Linked DNA regions of Homo sapiens: all the other regions are linked to region 1. Evidence: promoter capture Hi-C in 16 types of primary human blood cells and fetal thymus (Javierre and others, 2016). All regions are on one chromosome and are shown on one strand. Each heading gives the region's core, a stretch centred on a gene start or on the middle of the fragment in contact. The rest is flanking DNA. Distances are from core to core; before and after follow the strand shown. Region 1 holds the start of KLHL15 (kelch like family member 15). Region 2 overlaps ZFX (zinc finger protein X-linked). Region 3 overlaps APOO (apolipoprotein O).

Evidence for each region. The method cuts DNA at HindIII sites, captures the fragments that hold promoters and counts their contacts. A CHiCAGO score of 5 or more calls a contact.
Region 2: a fragment that was not itself captured here is called in contact with the fragment with the promoter of KLHL15 in region 1 in 3 of 17 cell types (total B cells, activated CD4 T cells and monocytes); the score reaches 8.3 in total B cells.
Region 3: a fragment that was not itself captured here is called in contact with the fragment with the promoter of KLHL15 in region 1 in 9 of 17 cell types (activated CD4 T cells, naive CD4 T cells, naive CD8 T cells and 6 more); the score reaches 8.7 in activated CD4 T cells.

What each region holds. Positions count from the first base shown.
Region 1 is chrX:24,025,887-24,029,019 of GRCh38, reverse strand. KLHL15 (kelch like family member 15) reads left to right here and starts at 1,834. Exons shown (of 4, transcript NM_030624.3): 1 at 1,834-1,880. RefSeq lists enhancers at 755-1,254, 2,462-2,965, 2,966-3,133 and a silencer at 3,133. The HindIII fragment of the contact is 3,234 bases long and covers 1-2,210 here.
Region 2 is chrX:24,161,461-24,164,789 of GRCh38, reverse strand. All of the region lies in intron 3 of ZFX (zinc finger protein X-linked), which reads right to left. Among named protein-coding and RNA genes, the nearest start is that of ZFX, 13 kb to the right of the region's middle. The HindIII fragment of the contact is 1,772 bases long and covers 706-2,477 here.
Region 3 is chrX:23,890,655-23,894,007 of GRCh38, reverse strand. The region is part of intron 1 of APOO (apolipoprotein O); the gene reads left to right. Among named protein-coding and RNA genes, the nearest start is that of APOO, 16 kb to the left of the region's middle. The HindIII fragment of the contact is 7,288 bases long and covers 1-3,353 here.

The DNA of each region.
Region 1 (3,133 bases), core at 585-3,084:
CTATGTTAATATAATTACATGGTACAGTGGAAAGATCATGGGGTGGCTGGGTGCGGTTGATCACGCCTGTAATCCCAACACTTTGGGAGGCTGAGGTGGATGGATTACTAGAGGTCAGGAGTTCGAGACCAGCCTGGCCAACATGGGAAAACCCATCTCTACTAAAGTTACAAAATTTAGCTGGGCGTGGTGGTGTGTGCCTGTAGTCCCAGCTACTTGGGAGGCTGAGGCAGGAGAATCACTTGAACCTGGGAGGCAGAGGTTGCAGTGAGCCAATCACGCCACTGCACTCCAGCCTGGATGATAGAGGGAGACTCTGTCTCAAAAAAAAGAAAAAAAAAAAAAGTAAAAAGAAAAGTGATTACCAAGACAACTACCACAGACTGGGAATTTCTGAAAAGCCTCAACTTTTCTTTTCTTTTTTTTTTTTTTGAGACAGCGTCTAGTTCCGTTGTCCAGGCTGGAGTGCAGTGGTGCAATCTCGACTCACTGCAACCTCTGCCTCCTGGGCTCAAGCCATACTCCTACCTCAGCCTCCTGAGTAGCTGGGACCGCAGGCCCGCACCACCATGCCAGCTAATTTTTTGTATTTTTAATAGAGACGGGGTTTCACTATGTTCGTCAGGCTGGTTTCCAACTCCTGACCTCTAATGATCCTTCCGCCTCGGCCTCCCAAAGTGCTGGAATTACAGGCGTGAGCCACCACGCCTGGCCTCAATTTCTTAAAAAGCAAAAACAGGAGGGAGGAGGAGGGTATGCAGTATCCTAAATCCTCAGAACCCCTGGGGAAGAACCTCATTCCAACTCCACCAGCACTCCCAGGCCCAGGCTTCTAGCATGCTTCCGACCTCGCTAGCTGCTAAATAAATAGCTATTGAGGAATGTGTATTCTCAAATACTTAGGCTAGAGGGCTAAGAAAAGACAGCTTCCATCTACCTCTGTGGGACTCTACCAGTGTGAAAGGATACTCTCAAGGTATTTAACAACTCCCATTACAGTCCAGAAATTGGTGGGGAAAGTTAAAATATATTTTCTTTTCTTTTTTTTTTTTGAGACGGTGTTTTTGCTCTGTTGCCTGAGCTGGAGTGCAGTGGCTCACGCTTGTAATCCCAGCACTTTGGGAGGCCAAGGCGGGCGATCATGAGGTCGGGGGTTTGAGACCAGCCTAGCCAACACAGTGAAACCCCGTCTCTACTAAAAATACAAAAGTTAGCTGGGCACGGTGGCGAGCGCCTGTAATCCCAGCTACTCGGGAGGCTGAGGCAGGATAATCGCTTGAACCCGGGAGGCGGAGGTTGCAGTCAGCCGAGATCCACTGCACCCCAGCCTGAGCGACAGACTCCATCTCAGAAAAAAACAAGCAAACAAAAACAAAACAAACAAACAAACAAAAACAAGAAAAGAAAAGTTAGCCGAGCATGGTGGGGCACGTCTGTGGTCCTAGCTATTCGGGAGGCTGAGGTGGAAGGATTGCTTGAGCCCGGGAGGTCAAGGCTGCAGTGAGCTGAGATCATGCCTCTGCCCTCCAGCCTGGCCGAGAGTGAGACTGTCTCAAAAAAAAAATAATAATAATAACATAAAAATAAGAAATAAGAGTGAAAGAGGCATCATTGATTGAAGATAACTTGGGGAGGGGTTCATATAGTAAACGTATAGATTGATTGAAAGACACAGCCCAGTTTTAAAACTACATAAATATCCAAAAAAGCACATTTGAAATTCCACGAGACCTTGCAATGTCAAAATAAGGAGGGACGGGAAGCACGGTGATCACACAATGGCTTATGACATACACTCACTACATTTATACCTGGTACAAAGAGCGCAGAAACGTTTCAACTCTTGCTTGAATCAAGAACAGAAGCCTCTCTTTAGACAGGTCAGTGCCACATAGTAATGTATAGCTTAAAATGTTAGTTAATGTACAAAAATCCAAACTCAGCGTTTAGATGTTCGGGAATAATGCATGAACATTTAAATATTCAGAAGTGGAATGTATGCATTTTTAAAGTTTATTTTATGATTTAATTTTAAAAATTTGTTTTAATGTGAAATTCTGGGGTAATTTGTCATGTAGTAATAGATACAAATATGGCAAGCAGGGATTTTTAAATAATGAACAGAAATATCTTAAAGGAGCTATTGGAAAAGATGGAAAGAAAGTGTGAACAACTTGGGAATTTCAGTGTCTTACAGTTTTTTTAAAGCTTGTTATAGTTTAAATCGGAATAAGGAAGCGTATTTCCAAAAGATTGAAGTGATTGTGTTATCTCTCCCACGAAGTAGTCTACTTCAGCAAAACAGTACACCGTGTGCTATTTTGGCCTCTTGGGAAAGATGGTATGTTCAAGTTTGCTAGAAAGAGATAATTATCGCTTTTAGCGACACCTCTCACGGAAAGTTCATCGGGATATTGGTCTAGAGAGAAAATGGCGGCGGGGGGTGGGGGTGGGGGAAGCCGAAATACCTCAGTTTAGGATCTGCTATGGGCAATGGATGCCCTAATTTAAGGTTAATTGTAGATCCACGGGCTTCCAACTGTGTATTTCCGTCATCTACACTTTTCCCAGAAAGAGATGCCATAATAAATTTACAAAACAGTCCTATAGTCTAGTTTTATATTCTTGTCAAGAAAAGGTAATATTTAAAAAGTACTAGCTAGAATTCTATAAAAAACGAACAACAAAAATCACTGCCCTCTGAATGTTCGTTCTTGATTATTTTGACGCAAGTAGAGACAGCTTTTTTAAATCCGGCATTATCTCCGGGTGGTGCAGACATGCAATTTTTTATGAATTTTCCCACCCTTGGGAAATCGATTTCTGAAACGTGTAATTGTTGTGCAGTAAGCCAAGTGGACAGTGACGCAATAGTCCACTGCAAGTTGCCTTACAAAAAATGATGTCATTTGGCGCAGATCTAGTCACTTTTATAACAGGTAGCTATGGAAAAGCTCCCTCCACGTTGTCCCCGATTCCCCCACCCCCACCGTGGCCAAGATGCAAAAAGACACTTTCCTGGCTTCCTAGCCCTCAACTTGTCGAGGGTGGGCGCACCGCAGTGGCTCAGGGCCCATCGCTCGTGCAGGCGGAGAGAGACCGCTGCAAGGGGACGAGGACAGCTGAGTGTCCT
Region 2 (3,329 bases), core at 342-2,841, 140 kb before region 1:
AATTTTTTGTATTTTTTACTAGTAGAGACAGGGTTTCACCACGTTGGCCAGGCTGGTTTCGAACTCCTGACCTCAGGTGATCCACCCGCCTCAGCCTCCCAAAGTGCTGGGATTACAGGTGTGAGGCACCGTGCCCAGCCCTAAATATTCTTAAACTATGATCTTTCTTAACATAATTGTCTTGCCAACTCCCTTGTCACTGATCACCAACGCTGTAATTTGACCCATATTGACCATACTATATCTCACCTACATGAATGCATACTTACTATTATTGCTTTTCCTAAATACATTACTTTCGGCCTATGAGGTTCTGTAAACTCAGTGTTAACACTTACAGTATTCTCTGTATACCTTAAGCACTGGCAAGAATATAACACTGGGCCTTTCAACAACTAGAACAAATATTTTAAATGGACAGTTCCAGAATTGTGGGGTATTTTTACATTGATCTTTTGCTAATGCAATCAGCAATGTGTTTTGCACATGGAATTTAATAAATCCTTTAATCATTAAAAAAATAATAAAAGAAAAGAACAAGCTGGGCAATGCAGGGGCAGGTTTGAAATACGCCTGCTTCTCAAAAGACCAACAACAGGCATGCTCCAGGTTGAGTATCAGCAACCATTAATTTCATGACCATTCTCTGGAGCAAAGCTAGGGAGCCAGCTAATTTTTACCCCAAAAAAATCTCCAAACCAAGCTTTTTCCAGGGGGTTGGGAAGACAATAAAATACAAGATAATAATCTAAAAGAGGGGAAGAAACTGGGAGAAAGCACAAACATATACAATTTGAAATAAGAAAAAAAAAAAACAGAAAAAAAGAAAACAACTTGTATGAAAATGGTCTAGAATTCTACACTAGCACAGTGACGGAAAATGTAAATTACCAGCATTAACTCAATAAAAGAAAACCCGATCGTAATGAATTTTTTTTTTTTTTTTTTTCTTTTTTTTAAAAGAGGGGGCCTGGGCACAGTGGCTCACACCCGTAATCCCAGCGCTTTGGGAAGCCAAGGCAGGAGATCACTTGCAGCAAGGAGTTCAAGACCAGCCTGGACAAAATAGCTAGACTCCATCTTGACAAAATAATTTTAAAAATTAGCTAGGCGGCCGGGCATGGTGACTAATGCCTGTAATCCCAGCACTTTGGAAGGCTGAGGTGGGTGGATCACCTGAGGTCAGGAGTTCGAGACCAGCCTGGCCAACATGGTGAAACCCCATCTCTACCAAAAATACAAAACTTAGCTGGGCGTGGTTGCTCGCGCCTGTAGTCCCAGCTACTCAGGAGGCTGAGGCACGAGAATCACTTGAACCCAGGAGGCAGAGGTTGCAGTGAGCCAAGATCGCGCCATTGCACTCCAGCCTGGGCGACAGAGTGAGACTCTGTATCAAAAAAAAAAAAAAAAAAAAAAAAAAAAAAACCTAACAAAAATAATTTAACCAAATTACAAACTTGGTTAATTATGAATCCCAAGTCAAGTATCCGCAAATATGATCCGTCATGTAAAAAAAAAAAAAAAAAAAAAAGCACATCCATGTACATGTACACACACACACACACACACCACAGACCTTGGCACAGTATGGGTACTCTAGAATTCAAGGATGGAGCCAAATAATGGCCCAAATTAATAGGTCAAAAAAAAAAACGCCTGATATTCTCAACAGATGCTGAAAAGTTGAAACTGAACGCCTACTTTTGATTTAAAGCAAACTTTTGAGTCAAATTGGGATAGATATTTTAACAGTTAACAAATTAAATAAATAGGATACACGCTAAAACATGGATGACCTTGAAAACAATATGCTAAGTGAAAGGAGCCAGACACGAAAGACCACGTTATAGGATTCCATTTATATGAAACGTCAGGAACAAGCAAATCCACACAGACAGAAGGTAGATTAGTGGTTGCTAGGGGATGAAGGAAGCGGGGAGAGGAGAGTGATTACCAGTAGGTGTAGGGTTTCTTTTTGGGGTGACGAAAATGTTCTAATTAGTGATAATAGTTACAGAACTCTGAATCTACTAAAAAACCACTGAAATGTACATTTTAAAGGGTAGATTTAATAATAGCTTTATCTCAATAAAGCTGTTTAAAAAATACTCAAGTATATGCAATCTTAAACCAGTTCATGTCAGAACATGTGTTTTGGGATATGAGAATGATGTCAGTTATCACTTTATAACAAAAAGACATCTATTAAACCTAAGGTAAAACATTAGAAGTATTCTCTCTAAAGTCAAAATTAAGAATGGCCATTAATACTATTATTATAGGATTGTGTGACAAATGCCAGCCAGTGTAATTAGGTAAGATGATGAAATAGAAGATATAATTATTACTTGAAGGAAATTAAACTTATTTGCATATGCTATATCTAGGAAATACAAGAGAATCAACTGAAAAACTATTATCGGTATGAATTCATAAGGTGTGCTGGTACAAAATTAATATACTTGAAGACAAAAGCTTTCTCATGTAAACACCTAAGAATGAAAAAATCCCACTGATAAGAGTAATTAAAAACTCTACTGTGTGGGATTTTTTTGTTTTTTGAGACAGAGTTTCACTCTTGTTGCCCAGGCTGGAGTGCAATGGCACGATCTCAGCTCACCACAACCTCTGCCTCCCAGGTTCAAGCGATTCTCCTGCCTCAGCCTTCCAAGTAGCTGGGACTACAGGCATGTGCCACCACGCCCAGCTAGAGATTTCTTTTTTTTTTTTTTTTCCTTTTTAGACAAATAAATAGAGAAAGCAATCTTGCTCTTGAATATGTTACATTAGGGCCAGGTGCAATGGCTCACACCTGTAATCCCAGCACTTTGGAAGGCTGAGGCAGGTAGATCACTTGAGGTCAGGAGTTCGAGACCAGGCTGGCCAACATGGTGAAACCCCGTCTCTACTAAAAATACAAAAGCTAGGCAGACATGGGGGCGCACACCTGTAATCCCAGCTACTCGAGAGGCTGAGGCAGAAGAAGAATCACTTGAACACAGAAGGCAGAGGCTGCAGTGAGCCAAATTTGCACCACTGCACTGCATTCCAGCCTGGATGACAGAGGAAGACTGTCTTTAAAAAAAAAAAAAAAAAAGAAAGAAAAAGAAAAAAAAGAATATGTTAGATTAGTAGTATCACTTCTCCCTTAATTAACCTCTACATTCAATCAAAATCCCAATACACCTTTCTTTAAATCAACTGACCTTGTATGTGTAGGTCAACTTTTGGACTCTATCCTGTGCCACTGGTCAATCTGGCTTTGCGCCCACTAATTTAATCACTGTAGCTTTATAATAAGTGTTGATATATGTTAGTGTTAAGTCTTC
Region 3 (3,353 bases), core at 614-3,113, 140 kb after region 1:
TGAAATACTTTTCCTTGTAAAAAGTCAAAATAGTACAGTTGGTCAGGTTGCTATTGTCCACCTCCCCCCAGCCCCCTTTCCAGAGAAAGCCTCTGTTCTGTTTGGTGTGTGGCCCTACATGTTAGAAAGGATTGCTGGCCGGGCATGGTGGCTCATGCCTATAATCCCAGCACTTTGGAAGGCCGAGGCAGGCAGATCACCTGAGATCAGGAGTTCGAGACCAGCCTGGCCAACATGGAGAAACCCCATCTCTACTGAAAATACAAAAAAAATTAGCTGGGCGTGGTGGCAGGCACCTATTATTCCAGCTACTCAGGAGGCTGAGGCTGGAGAATCACTTGAACCCAGGAGACGGAGATTGCAGTGAGCCGAGATTGTGGCACTGCACTCCAGCCTGGGTGGCAAGAGTGAAACTCTGTCTCAAAAAATAAAAAATATAAAAATAAAAGATTGCTGTATAAAATGTAGATACTGTCCTGAATGCTCCTTATGGAGGAGAGTATTCTGTATTCTTTTGACGTTTCAAGAATTGTGGACTCATTTCTCTTGATTTTTATTTTTATTTATTTATTTATTTATTTTTCAGACGGAGCCTTGCCCTGTCGCCCAGACTGGAGTGCAGTGGCGTGATGTCGGCTCACTGCAAGCTCCGCCTCCCAGGTTTTCTCCTGCCTCAGCCTCCTGAGTATCTGGGACTACAGGTTCCCACCACCACGCCTGGCTAATGTTTTGTTTTTTTTTTTTTTGTATTTTTAGTAGAGATGGGGTTTCACCATGTTAGCCAAGATGGTCTCGATCTCCTGACCTCGTGATCTGCCCGCTTCGGCCTCCCAAAGTGCTGGGATTACAGGCGTGAGCCACCGCGCCCGGCCTTTCTCTTGATTTTTCATTCAATTTACAACACGTTACTGAGGACAACAGTGTAGCCTGATTTTGACAAAATTTTTTTATTGTCTTCATCATTTTGTTGTATTCTGAGTTCTTTCACATAGTTCTTTTTTTTGTGTTGGTTACTTAGAATAAGAATAATCTCAAAAGTATTGTCAGTGTTCATAGTTTGTTTTTTTTTTTTGTAAAAAACCCATTTCAGATTTTTACCTCCTAAATAATTAGAATCAGATTAAAATAGTTTTGTTTCGAGTGAAAAATGCTGTCAGAATGGAAATTATTGCAGAAAAGGTTGACTGAGGCCAGGCGCGGTGGCTCACGCTTGTAATCCCAGCACTTTTTTTTTTTTTTTGTGACGGAGTCCCGCTCTGTCGCCCAGGTTGGAGTGCAGTGGCGCGATCTTGGCTCACTGCAAGCTCCACCTCCCAGGTTCACGCCATTCTCCTGCCTCTGCCTCCTGAGTAGCTGGGACTACAGGCGCCCGCCACCATGCCCTGCTAATTTTTTGTATTTTTAGTAGAGATGGGGTTTCACTGTGTTTCTAGGATGGTCTCGATTTCCTGACCTCGTGAACTGCCCACCTTGGCCAATTCCAGCAGTATGAGAGGCCAAGGCAGGTGGATCACCTGAGGTAAGGAGTTTGAGACCACCAGCCTAGCCAACATGGTGAAACCCTGTCTCTACTAAAATTCCAAAAAGTAGCTGGGCATGGTAGCGGGCGCCTGTAATGCCAGCTACTTGGGAGGCTGAGGCAGGAGAATCGCTTGAATCCGAGAGACGGCGGAGGTTGCAGTGAGTGGAGATCGCGCCACTGCACTCCAGGCTGGGCGACAGTGCGAGACTCCGTCTCAAAAAAAAAAAAAATAATTAGCTGGGTGTGGTGGTGGCTGCCTGTAATCCCAGCTACTTGAGAGGCTGAGGCAGGAGAATCGTTTGAACCCCAGGGGCACGGAGGTTGTCTTGAGCCGAGATTGCGCCACTTCACTCCAGCCTGGGTGAAAGAGCAAAACTCTGTCTCAAAAAAAAAAAAATTTATTTTCATTCTTTATCATTAAAGAGTTGCTTTTATGTTGTCCTTTGTGTGGCTTGTAGGATCATTAAATAAGGTAGAGAATCTCATAAAAACAGTTTTGGAGAAAGATAGTTGAAAGCATAATGTCATACATTTTAAATATATAAATGTAAACTATATATAGAAATACATAAAGTATTATATATACTTAAACTATATAAACTATATTTTTAAGTATATATAGTATGTATAAGTCTATAAGTATATATATACATATAGTTTATATACATATATATAAACTTGGTAGAAGGGTAAGATACTGTAAGTGTATATATACTTACATAGAGAGAGTTTAAATTATTTACATGGAAAATAGAAATAATATATTCCATCACTCCAAAAAAAAGGTCACCTTTGGATATAGCCTGTTTGAAGTAGCAGTTGAAAAGCCTGGTAACATGTCCCTCAGGGAGTTAGAAACACAGGAAACACACAAGCCTGAGGCTTAGGGAGAGGCCCAGGCTAGGGATACTGATTTGAGCATCAGTAGCATATGAGTGGGAGTTAAAGACTTAGATTTTGGCCAGGTGTGGTGGCTCACGCCTATAATCCCAGCACTTTGGGAGGCTGAGGCAGGTGGATCCCTTGAGCCCAGGAGTTTGAGACCAGCCTGGCCAACATGGCGAAACCCTGTCTCTACTAAAAACACAAAAATTAGCTGAGCGTGGTGGCGGGCGCCTGTAATCCCAGCTACTTGGGAGGCTAAAGCATGAGAATCCCTTGAACCCGGGAGGCGGAGATTGTAGTGAGCCGAGATCAGGCCACTGGACTCCAGTCTGGGTGACAGAGCGAGACTCTGTCTGAAAGAAAAAAAAAAGAAAGAATTAGATTTTAATGAAATTGCCCTGGAGTGAGAAGAGGAGAGAGTTAAAGACTACTCCATGACTCATCAACCTTGAAGAGCTATGCAGAGGAAGAGAAGGCCCAAAAGGGGAGGAGAGAGTACCTAGAAAGCCTCTAGAATGGGGATAGGGTAGAATCCTGTAAGCCAAAGAAAGGGGTTGAAGATGTAGAGTAGTCACCAGTTTCAGGGTGCAACCAAGATGCCAGATGTCCAGTGGGGTTTAGCAACTGGGAGGCTATTGGTGGTCTTGGGAAGAAAGGTTTTAGGTGCATTTAGTAGTAAAGGGAGGAGGAGATAAAATTGAGAAAGCAAACAGAATCTGCCTTTTTGACTTTGTGCTTAAATGCGGATGCTCCTCAGCTTGTGGTGGGGTTGCATTCTGATAAACCTATCATAAGTTGAAAATATCATTAAGTCAAAAATTAACACACCTAACCTACCAAACATCATAATTTAGCCTACCCTCCCTTAAATGTACTCAGAACACTTCCAGTAGCCCACAGTTGGGCAGAATCATCTAACACAAAGCCTATTTTATAATAAACTATT